Linked DNA regions of Homo sapiens: region 1 is linked to region 2. Evidence: promoter capture Hi-C in 16 types of primary human blood cells and fetal thymus (Javierre and others, 2016). All regions are on one chromosome and are shown on one strand. The core of a region is centred on a gene start or on the middle of the fragment in contact, and the rest is flanking DNA. Distances in the headings are between cores, read along the strand shown.

The links. The method cuts DNA at HindIII sites, captures the fragments that hold promoters and counts their contacts. A CHiCAGO score of 5 or more calls a contact.
Region 1: a fragment that was not itself captured here is called in contact with the fragment with the promoter of NARS1 in region 2 in 5 of 17 cell types (naive CD4 T cells, non-activated CD4 T cells, total CD4 T cells and 2 more); the score reaches 8.4 in naive CD4 T cells.

Annotation. Positions count from the first base shown.
Region 1 is chr18:56,618,285-56,623,884 of GRCh38, forward strand. All of the region lies in intron 3 of TXNL1 (thioredoxin like 1), which reads right to left. Among named protein-coding and RNA genes, the nearest start is that of TXNL1, 18 kb to the right of the region's middle. The HindIII fragment of the contact is 7,096 bases long and covers 1-5,600 here.
Region 2 is chr18:57,618,306-57,624,465 of GRCh38, forward strand. NARS1 (asparaginyl-tRNA synthetase 1) reads right to left here and starts at 3,531. Exons shown (of 14, transcript NM_004539.4): 1 at 3,403-3,531; 2 at 2,264-2,346. The coding sequence starts at 3,412. RefSeq lists enhancers at 3,380-4,084, 3,465-3,804. The HindIII fragment of the contact is 17,897 bases long and covers 1-6,160 here.

The DNA.
Region 1 (5,600 bases), core at 1,994-4,493, 1.0 Mb before region 2:
CTGAGATCTACCATCAATTATTAAAGCCAAGTCTAGGCTTAGCCTACTTGATAAGGTATCAGAAATGATGTCTTTAAGATTATAAAATGTTGACTTATACTTTAAAAAATAAGTGTTTTACAGAAGAAAATATGCAAATTAAAATATCCGTAAGATCCAAAGAAAGCCTATTTCCCTCTTCTAGTGGTCAAGGACTCTTTATATCTATGAAGATGTCCAATTTAAGATGAGTAGCAAATAAGGACTTAAAGTTTTTATCATGAAAAATTTCAAACAGACAAAAATATAATAATATAGTAAATCCCATGTATCCACCACCTCCAGCTACAATAATCATCAACTGAAGGCCACTCTTGCCTCATCTTTAACCCCCAACTACATCCTAACTCTCCTCCTGATTAGTTTGAAAAAAAAAAAAGCATCTTTTCATTTCATTCATGAACATTTCAGTATGAATTTCTAAGCAATAAGAACTTAAAAAAAAACATTCTCAATATCATTATCACAATCAATAATTCCTTAACACCATCAAATCAGTGGTCAAATTTCCTCCACTGTCTCATAAATATTTCACACTTGAATTGTTACACGCAGAATAAAGATCCAAAAAAGTATACACCAATAATAGAGATAAAAAGAAAAAGGCCTGGTACGATGGCTCATGCTTCTAATCCCAGCACTTTGGGAGGCCAAGGTGGGTGGACAGCTTGAGCTTAGGAGTTCAAGAGCAGCCTGGGCAACATAGTGAGACTTTGTCTCTAAAAAACTTAAAAAAAAAAATTAGCTGGGTGCAGTGGCATGTGCCTTTAGTCCCAGCTAATTGGGAGGCTGAGCTGGGAGGATGGCTTGAGCTCAGGAAATCAAGGCTGCAGTAAGCTGAAATTGCGCCATTGTACTCCAGCCCAGGCAGCAGAGCAAGACCCTGTCTCAAAAAAAAAAAAAAAAAAAAAGTATAAACATTATATTTGGAGGCCGGGTCGGGGTGGCTCACCCCTGCAATCCCAGCATTTTAGGAGGCCGAGGCGGGTGAATCGCCTGAGGTCAGGAGTTTGAGACCAGCTTGTCCAACATGGTGAAACTCTGTCTCTACTAAAAATACAAAAATTAGCCAGGCATGGTGGCGGGCACCTATAATCCCAGCTACTCGGGAAGCTGAGGCAGGAGAACTTCTTGAACCTGGGAGGCGGAGGTTGCAGTGAGCCGAGATCACACCACTGCACTCCAGCCTGGGGACAGAGCAAGACTCTGTCTCCAAAAAAAAAAAAAAAAAAAAAAATTGTATTTGGTTAATATGTCTCTGAAATCTCTTTTAATCTAGTCATTTAGCTTATAGATTTCTCAATACTTTGGATTTTACCGTTTACTTCCCTGTGGTGTCAGCACATGCCCATCTCTGTATACTTTATTCTAACACTTCCATACCTCCCACACATCAGAGTTGTGTTAACAGCGGTTGGTCATGCTTGTCTTATTTCTGACTTTAGTAGGAATGCTTCCAATGTTCCCTTATTAAGATTTTACTGAATGCTTTAGGAATAAAGGGGTATTTAAATTTTGTCAAATGCCTTTTCTGCATATTTGGAGATCATGATTTTTCTCCTTAGGTCTATTAATGTGACAGATTAAGTAAATTTCCTAACATAAACAACTCTTACATGCTTTAAAAAAACTCAATTTTGTTATTATTATTATTATTATTTTTTTGAGACATTCTCACTCTGTCGCCCAGGCTGGAGTACAGTGGTGTTATCTTGGCTCACTGAAACCTCCACCTCCCGGGTTCAAGTGATTCTCCTGCTTCAGTCTCCTGAGTAGCTGGGATTACAGGCGTGTGCCACCATGTCTGGCTACTTTTTGTATTTTTAGTAGAGATGGGCTTTCACAATGGCCAGGCTGGTCTCCAACTCCTGGCCTCAAGTGATCTACCCACCTCAGCCTCCCAAAGTGCTGGGATTACAGGCATGAGCCACCACACCCAGCCCATGATGATATTATTGAATTTTGTTTACTAACACTTTATTTAAAAATTTTACATCAATATTCATAATTGAAACTGGTCTGCAGCTTTCTTTTTTGGTGCATACTTTGTCAAATTATCAGATCAATGTCACAGTTCAAAAATAAATTTAAAAGTTTTCTTTTTACTTAAGATCTTAAGTAGTTACAGTAACAGTAGATTACCTGATCTTTATACGGATTTGGCAACATTTACCTGTAAAGTCATAGAAGCCTTTAGGGAAGAAATCTTTACTACTATTTCTTCTATTTCTCTATGGTGCTGGTCTATTTAGGTGTTCTGCTTCTAGTAGAGTTGATTTTGGTAAAAGTGTATTTTTCTAGAAAAGTATCCATTTTATCTCCTAAACAAGGATTACTTTTCAAGTCTACCAAGTATTATAGATGAGTCACATGTTCACCTCTCTATCTCAAAGGGTTTTCATTATGTTTTTTAAAGATACAAATACATACATACATAATTCTCAAAGACTGAAGAAAACTTTGTATGTCAAGTAAATATGAAAATGGTAATAATCATTAGTATAGACCTCTAGTTACAGATAAAACAGCCTAAATGCTTTCAAAGCTGAAATGTTATAGTAAATGTATTACTCAGGGTAACGTATAGCCAATTTAAAAGATGGGGAGGGAAGAAAAAAGGGCTACAGAGCAAAGTTTTACTATAGCAGAATTATTCGGAGCATTATGAACATTTGCCTTAAAAGGGCAGTTTTGACAAAATCTTTAAAATGTTTTTGTCTTCCATCCTATCTATATGTCACTTCAATATGGTATCTAGGATTAAGACAACATTACAGTCAGACTTGCAATACCTAAATGATAAAAATAAACTAAGTGGGTAAATTCTTCTAAATAGTTTTTGTTTTTATTTATTGTGGGGCACACAAAACATATATATGTATTTTTTTTTTTTTTTTTTGAAACAAAGTCTCCCTCTGTTGCCCAGGCTGGAGTTGCAGTGGCGCAATCTTGGCTCAATGCAACCTCCGCCTCCTGCAATTCTGCTTCAGCCTCCCGAGTTGCTGGGACTACAGCAGTGTGCCACTGCACCTGGCTAATTTTTGTATTTTTGGTAGAGATGGGGTTTCTGATGTTGGCCAGGCTGGTCTTGAACTCCTGACCTCAGGTGATCCACCCGCCTCAGCCTCCCAAAGTGCTGGGATTACAGGCGTGAGCCACCACACGCCCAGCCCACAAAACATATTTAAAGGGGTGCATTAAAGTATTTTGTTATAAAAACTGTCTGGGACAAACTGGCATTATTACATTGCATAGTTGACATAACTGGAAACTGACATATTCTGAAAACCTGCAATGAGAAATAAATGTTGCTACCTTTATAATCAACATGCCAATCATGGGAAAATAATCAGGTTAATCCAGAATACGCAACAGTCTATAAAACAGATATCCTAGCTAGGTGCAGTGGCTCACACGTGTAATCCTAGCACTTTGGGAGGCTGAGACAGGTGGATCACCTGAGGTCAGGAGTTTGAGACCAGCCTGGCCAACATGGTGAAACCCCCTCTCTACTAAAAATACAAAAAGTAGCTGGGTGTGGTGGTGGGCACCTATAATCCCAGCTACTTGGGAGCCCGAGGCAGAACTGCTTCAAACGAGCGGCAGGGGCAGGGGCCAGGGGGACGGTGGAGGTTGCAGATCATGCCACTTCACGCCAGCCTAGACAAAAGTGTGAAACTCCATCTCAAAAAAAAAAAAAAAAAAAATTAATTAAATAAAACAGCCTAGACCCATGCTATTCAATATGATACTCATTAGCCACATGTGGCAATTTAAAATTAAATTAATTAAAATTAGATAAAATTAAATATTAAGTTCCTCAGTTGCACTAGTCATATAACAAAATGTTCAATAGACAAGTGTGCCTAGTGGCTACCATATTACTAGACCAGTGCTGGTTTAGACTTTCAAAATGGAAAACCATGACAGAAAAAAAAGGCAGAGAAAAGTTTCTAGACTAAAGAACATTAATTAGGACAACTTAAATGCAATGCATGATCCTTGATTTGATCCTAAATGGTGGGAAACAGCCATAAAGAATATTTTGGGGATAATTAAGAAAATTTAACTGTAGGATAATTAGAAATATTGTATCAATATTAAATTTCTTGGGAGTTATAATGGTATCATCGTTATATAAGATTACCAAATTTAAATACTGAATAACCCTGTGAGACCTAAATAGTTCAAAACTTTAATGTCTTGATTGACACCTGACAGAAAAAAAGGGACATTTAAAAATAACAGCTTTTCATATTTTATCCATAACATTTGCACAAAAACTAAATTTTTATTTCTTAAAACTTCATTTTTTCCTATTTCCTATCTGAGGCCAAAACACTCATACCACAGCGGATGTGTAAAGAAGTATGCCTGTAGCTAGGCAACAAGACTGCTGTGTTCCTAAGACTTTTTAATGCAAACACCCTTAGTAATAAAGGGAAAAAAATACAAAGATATAAACACAATGGTTTACAAGTTAAATGATTTCCAAAACTGTCCAAAAGATGTAACAACCCTGACATAAACGATATGTTGATACTTCCTAATTGGACATTACAATTTCAAATTACAGGTCTATTTTAAATAAATAGTAATTGTACTTCCTTAAATTAATGCTGGTATCACATTACTGATGCTTTCTGACACCCTTACAATCTCCTACTACACACCCATATAGAAAGAATCTCTCATTTTTTTTTTTGGACTATAGCATCTCTTCATTCGGCATGAATTTAGACTTACAGGGAGGACTTGTAGCTCCATGACACAGATCTGCTTTAATATGCCTGTTATACATTGTTTAAGATATTAGCTTTGGCTAGGTGCAGTGGCTCACGCCTGTAATCCCAACACTTTGGGGGAGGCCAAGGCAGGTGGATCACCTGAGGTCAGGAGTTCGAGACCAGCCTGGCCAACATGGTGAAACCTCGTCTCTACGAAAAATACAAAAATTAGCTGGGCATGGTGGCAGGTGCCTGTAATCCCAGCTACTGGGGAGGCTGAGGCAGGAGAATAGCTTGAACCCTGGAGGTGGAGGTTGCAGTGAGCTGAGATCGTGCCACTGCACTCCAGCCTGGGTGACAGAGGGACTCCGCCTCAAAAAAAAAAAAAAAAAAGATATTAACTTTAACTTGAGGTAACTTTTTTTAAAATTCATTCTTTGATCTGCCAGTGCAGTAACTTTGTAACCAGAGAAATTAAAAACTATATATATCTCTTAGTATACAAGATTTACCTATTTGTATAAGCAAATCTAATACCATGAAGTGCTACTTCCAAATTTTGCTTCCTTCTTGAATAGCTCTCAAATTAAAAATGCTGCATTCTAACTATTTATACTCTGCAGTTTCCACACACTATCCTTTAGATTCTTAAGTCTTTATGTTGTTATTTGAAATAACTTACTCTTAAAACCTAGAATACATGTGATAACAAAGTCAAATTTGATTCTAAAACAAAATCAGTAATTAGACTTTTTTTTTTTTTTAAATACAGTGCCAGAAAAGAGGGCATACATTTAAAAAGATAAAACTATAGGAAGTGAGTGACAGTAAAAG
Region 2 (6,160 bases), core at 2,281-4,780:
AGATAGCCATTGATGAAAATGCAAAACCAAGAGAGAAGGTCCCATGAATACATGTAGGTCGTTCGGAATTCACTTATTACCCGACAATCTGTACTGATCCCTCCTTTTGTATCATTGAAATTGAAAGAGCCAAACTATCAGTTCCCAAATCAGAATGCTACACTTTTGTTAACAGTGACATTCTGTTGTTAACAGTGACATTCTGCAAACGTTCATCTAAACGGTGTTGTCAGTTTTCAGGAGCTGCAAAACGAGGCACCCGATAATCCAGAAATGAAAGATTTCCCCTTAAGAGTGGTTAAAAAGTAAAACCCAGCCAGGAGTGGCGGCTCACACCTGTAGCCCCAGCACTTTGGGAGGCCAAGGCAGCAGGATTGCTTAAGCCCAGGAGTTTAAGACCAGCCTGGGAAACATAATGAGATCTCGTATCTACAAATAAGAAACAAATTAACCGCGTGTGGTGACATGCCCCTGTGGTCCGAGCTACTTGGAAGGCTGAGGTGGGAGGATCCCTTAAGCCCAGGAGGTTGAAGCTGCAGTGAGCCATGAATGCGCTACTGCACTCCAGCCTGGGCAACAAATTAAGATCCTGTCTCAGAAAAATAAATAAATAAGTTAAATTAAAAACAAGTACCCATGTATGACACACCAAAGTTTATAACCATATGGTATGACCTAAAAGAGAGGAGAATGCTCCCAGATTAGGACTTGATAGTAACTATAAATGTTGTAACACAGTTAACAAAAAAAGGGGATGCACAGAAAAAGGAGTGTCAAGGCACTGCTTTTCCTAATACAGTTCAAAGAAGGAACTTTTTTGTTGTTGTCGTCCAGGCTGCAGAGCAGTGATGCAATCACGGCTCACTGCAGCCTCAACCTCCTGGGCTCAAGTAATCCCCCTATCTCAGTCTCCCGAGTAGCTGGGGCCACAGGTGCATACCATACCACCATGCCTGGCTAATTTTTTTTTTTTTTTTTTTTTGGTAGTTGGCTGAGTGTGATGGCTCACTCCTATAAACCCAGCACTTTGGGAGGGTTAATATCCTGTCTCTATTTATTTTTTAAATTAAATTTATTAAAAAATTTTTAAGAAGTTAAATTTTTTGTAGAGATGAGGGTCTTATCATGTTGCCCAGGCTGTTCTCAAACTCCTGGGCTCAAGCAGTCCTCCAGCCTCAGCCTCCCAAAGTGCTGGGATTACAAACGTGAGGCACCAAAGCCCAGACCCAAGGAAGGAACTTTTAACCATCTTCCTTATGTGGCAGTTATAGCCAATGGATTCTAGCATATGAGTTCAACAGCTAAGTCCATGGTCTATTTTAAGAAGGTTGTCTTAGGCCACACTTTACTCTGATATAATCAACTACCTAACACCCATGTTGTGAGTCCAAGCCCTTTTTTTGTTTTTTCTTCTGAGACAGGGTCTCAGGCTAGAGTGCAGTGGCGCAATGGTGGCTCACTGCAACCTCCACCTTCCAGGCTAAAGAAATCCTCACCTCAGTCTCCGGAGTAGCTGGGACCACAGGCACGCACCACCATGCTGGGCTAATTTTTATGTTTTTTGTAGAGCCAGGATTTCACCAAGTTGCCCAAGCTGGTCTCAAACTCCTGCGCTGAAGCAATCCACCTGCCCCGGCCTCCCAAAGTGTTGAGATTATAGGCGTGAGCCACCACACCAGGCCTGAGTCCAAGCTCTTGACAAACCCCTTTGAGAATGAGCTAAACTCATTCAAGGATTCTAGATCCTGAGAAATAACAGCACTGTTAATTCATTAACAGAATGTTAATAAATTGGCATTCTAGCTTGAAGCTCCAGACTCATGAGTCAGCTCTGACAAATGAATCCATTCTTGGTGGTCTTGGAGTCAAATCTCAGGATCACACTCTGGATTGTGGTAAATTCACCAAAAGCCCTCTCAGGAGCCCCCTGGTCATGAGCTCACTGTAACTGAGGAAAGGTAACTTTTATCTTTACAAGAATTGAAAACCCAGCAATCTGACTCAATGGAGAGAAAAATTCCAAGAAGCAATGCCATGTGGTAAGAAAGAAGAGACCTTTTTTCAAAATGTTAAAAAGTAAGTTTAGACTTTGATCATCTAACAATCTTAAAGTCACATATCTGTATGCATTCCTTACTTTCCCTTTTCTGAAAATTCTCTTTGGAACCTAGTGTTTGAAATTAAGTTCTTGGCAAGTCACAAGAAAATTGACATAACTCATTAATAAATGCAGTCTCATTTTCCTAATGAGAAGAGACTCTACCTTTAGACCTGTTTTAAATGGTTTCTCCTTGGTTCCATCTCCCGTGGCATCGCTTCCCTCTCGGTCAGAGACGTACAGCTCTGCTGTTTGACAAAATGAGGGTAAGTTATGGTCTGGCCATTAACTATTAGTCACCTTACTACTTTATTCATTCCTTATCTTTGTAAACAGAACAAGCATCGATTAATAAAAATTGAGGTCCATAAGTAATTAATATCCTAGTTATTTCCCCACTCCATTTCAATAACATCCATCTCATAAAAACATTAGTTAATAATCCAGGTTTTCAAAATGAACTCTGATCATTTTAATTTGTGATATTTATTCTATCTAATTGGGCACCCAAAAATAAAATATGGGCTTTGAAGTTGATCAGACATACGCTGGAATGTTGGATTTTGTACCTTAAAAGGCAGGGTGACTCTGGAGAATTTACTTAACCTTTCTGAGCTTATTTCTTTACCTATAAAATAGGAAAAACAATCCCCATCTTGAAAGGCTGTGCTGAGGATGAAATAAAATAACACATACAAATCAGATATCCCAGTGCCAGTTTTTGTAGAGATGGCAAATAAACACCAGCTCCCTCTGGACTTTAAAGGAAACAGAAGCTCTGAGGTTAGAAAATTTCAGAAGGCCTCACAACTAGTAGGTCTGAACAGTTAACATCCATCCAGGTCTCTCTCTTTTTTTTTTTTTTTTTCCTACTGCACAGTATGGTCTCCCCGGAAACCTCAATAAAAAAATGAGGGTGGGAGAAAAACAACTAGAATCCTAAAGCCCCTTCCTGACGATCACTTTGAAGAACTGCAGGAGTAGGGGCTACCCTGTGTCTGAACCCGTCCCAGCGCCTGAGTCTCAGCGCAATCGGGAGGTTTCGCAGCGGGGCAGGGGAAGGGCCCGGAGCCACCGCCATCGCAGCCCGGGGGAACGACGGACTCGGGGAAGCCCGGCCTGGCCCTTCAAGTCCCGGGCCCAGCAAAGGCCAGCACCCTCCCTCCCTCCCTCCCTGCAATCGGTCCCCAAACATTCGCGGGGCGCCCACTCTGGTAGGCACTAAGGAAAGCGCCGAAACCCGACTGGAGCAGAGTTCCTGCCCCAGGCAGGGAACACCGCGCCATACACTGAGTCTCACCCACCTAGCACCATGCCTGCAGTGGCCCTGGTCACCTCCAAGGACACAGACTGCAACACCGACGCCGTCTTATGACTCCAACGTGCACCGGCGGTTTCCGCGATTCCGGCGTTGCATCAGAGAGCGTAGATCTGAGGGCGCCTGCGAGAATCGGCCGAGCGCCGCGGTTCCATTGGTTACGAGAGGTGGGCGAGCGGCGCCGGGGCCGCCATCTTTGGTGAGGGCAGAGGCAACTTCCGGATCCAGAGACGCCCCGCCCCACGCGTTTGTGCAGCTCGGAAGGCGCTGCCTGTCCCGGAGCTCCGCGGCCCTGGAGACCCTGGCACAGTGTCACTTTTGCACCCTTCCTTCCCCGCCTCCCCAACTTTCCTTTCTGAATCTTCCAATTCCGCCCCAGCTGGAGGCGTGCGGGTCCTCTTGCAAACCAGACCAAGGATGTCGCCCCGATCCCCAGATGGTGGAGGCTGGTTGAGTTCATGTCACCAGCAAACACCGCGCCAGCTGCGAGACGGGGTGCGCGGCGGTGGAGGGGACGCAGCGGGTTGCGTAAACTTCCTTTTTTTTTTTTTTTTTTTTGAGACGGAGTCTCGCTCTGTCACCCAGGCTGGAGTGCAGTGGCGCGATCTCGGCTCACCGCACCCTCCACCTCCCGGGTTCAAGCGATTCTTCTGCCTCAGCCTCCCGAGTAGCTGGGATTACAGGCCTGTGCCACCATGCCCAGCTAATTTTTGTATTTTTAGTAAAGACGGGGTTTCACCATCTTAGTCAAGCTGGTCTCGAACTCCTGACCTTGTGATCCGCCCACCTCGGCCTCCCAAAGTGCTGGGATTACAGGCGTGAGCCATCGCGCCCGGCCAGATGCGTTAACTTTCTAAACTCCGTGAGCCAGCGTCCCTCGGTGTTCAGGAGAGGAGCTATGGTATATGTTCATTTAAAATTGTAAGGATTACCGTTAGGAAGGCCATAATAATGTGGTGGAAAGAACGAGGGCTTCGGAATACAAACCTGGGTTCTGCCTTTTACTAACCGTGTGTCTTCAGATAAATTACCTAAACTGAATGAGCTTCATTCAGCGAGTTGGGACCGATTGCAGGGAGGGAGGGAGGGTCCTGGCCCTTGCTGGGCCCGGGACTTGAAGGGCCAGGCCGGGCTTCCCCGAGTCCGTTGTTCCCCGGGCTGCGATGGCGGTGGCTCCGGCCCCTGCCCCTGCCCCGCTGCGAAACATCCCGATTGCGCCGAGAGTCAGGCGCTGAGAGGGGTTTATCTGTGTCTTCAGATAAATTACCTAATCTGAATGAGCTTCAGTTTTTCTATTTGTGAAAGATGATATAAATTCACTGCCCGGGCATGTAAGAGGTGCTAATAAAGGGTCTGTCATCATTTTCAACTTTTTTTTACTTTTTTGGTGGGCTTTTTTTTTTTTTGGAGACTGGGTCTTCTCTGTTGCTCAGGCTGGAGTGCAGTGGTGCTATCATAGCTCACGGCAGCCTCGAACTCCTGGGCTCAAGTGAGCCTCCCACTTAAGCCTCCCAAGTAGCTGGGACTATAGGTGCACGCCACCACGCCTGGCTTATTTTATTTTTATTTTTGTGGAGATGGGGGAGGGGTCTCCCTGTGTCGCCCAGGCTGGTCTCCAACTTCTGGGATCAAGTGATCCTCCTGCCTCAGCCTCCCAAAGTGCTGGTCTTACAGGCGTGAGCTACCACGCCCAGCCCATTCTCAATTTAGTGGAATACCAGAGTTTGTCCCTGAAGCAAAAGAAAACCTTTTTTTTATGAGAGGTCCTCAAAAAAATAACTCTATATATAGGTTCAGGGCCCATCAAGAATATGAACCAAGTCCGGGCACAGTGGCTCATGATTGTTATCAATCCCAGCACCTTGGGAGGTTGAGGCGGGTGGATCACTTGAGGTCAGGAGTTGGAGACCAGTCTGGCCAACATGGTGAAACCCCGTGTCTACTCAAAATACAAAAATTAGCCGGGCGTGGTGGCACGCGCCAGTAATCCCGGTTACTCAGGAGGCTGAGGCAAGAAAATCACTTGAACCCAGGAGGCGGAGGTTGCAGTGAGCTGAGATCGTGCCACTGCACTCCAGTCTGGGTAACAGAGTGAGACTCCATCTCAAAAAAAAAAAAAAAAAAAAGTACCAAATACTATTCCTAAGGAATATTTCACCCAATTTTATGAACTTTCCCTTTTCCTCTTGGCTGAATGTTTTCTGTTGGCTCATGGATTAGTATCAATTGCTACAAAGCAAATTTTCCCAAACCTTAGCAGCTTAAAACCCCGAACATTTATTACCTTAGCAGTTTCTTTTGAGACAGTCTCAGTTCTGTCGCCCAGGCTGGAGTGCAGTGGCGCGATCTCAGCTCACTGCAACCTCCGCCTACCAGATTCAAGAGATTCTCCTGCCTCAGCCTCCCGAGGAGCTGGGATTACAGACGTGTGCCACTACGCCCAGCTAATTTTTGTATTTTGAGTAGACATGAGGTTTCACCATGTTGTCCAGGCTGGTCTTGAACTCCTGACCTCAAGTGATCTGCTTGCCTCGGCCTCCCAAAATGCTGGGATTACAGGCCTGAGCCACCATGCCAGGCCCTACCTTGCACAGTTTCTGATGGTCAGGAATAAGGTAGTGGGTTAGCTGGAGGTTCTGGCTCAGGTCTCTCATGAATCATGCTGAGGGCAGGGTCTGTAGTCATCCGAAGGCTTGGGTGGGTGGGGATCTGCCTCCAGGCTCACTCACAAGCTGTGGTCAGAA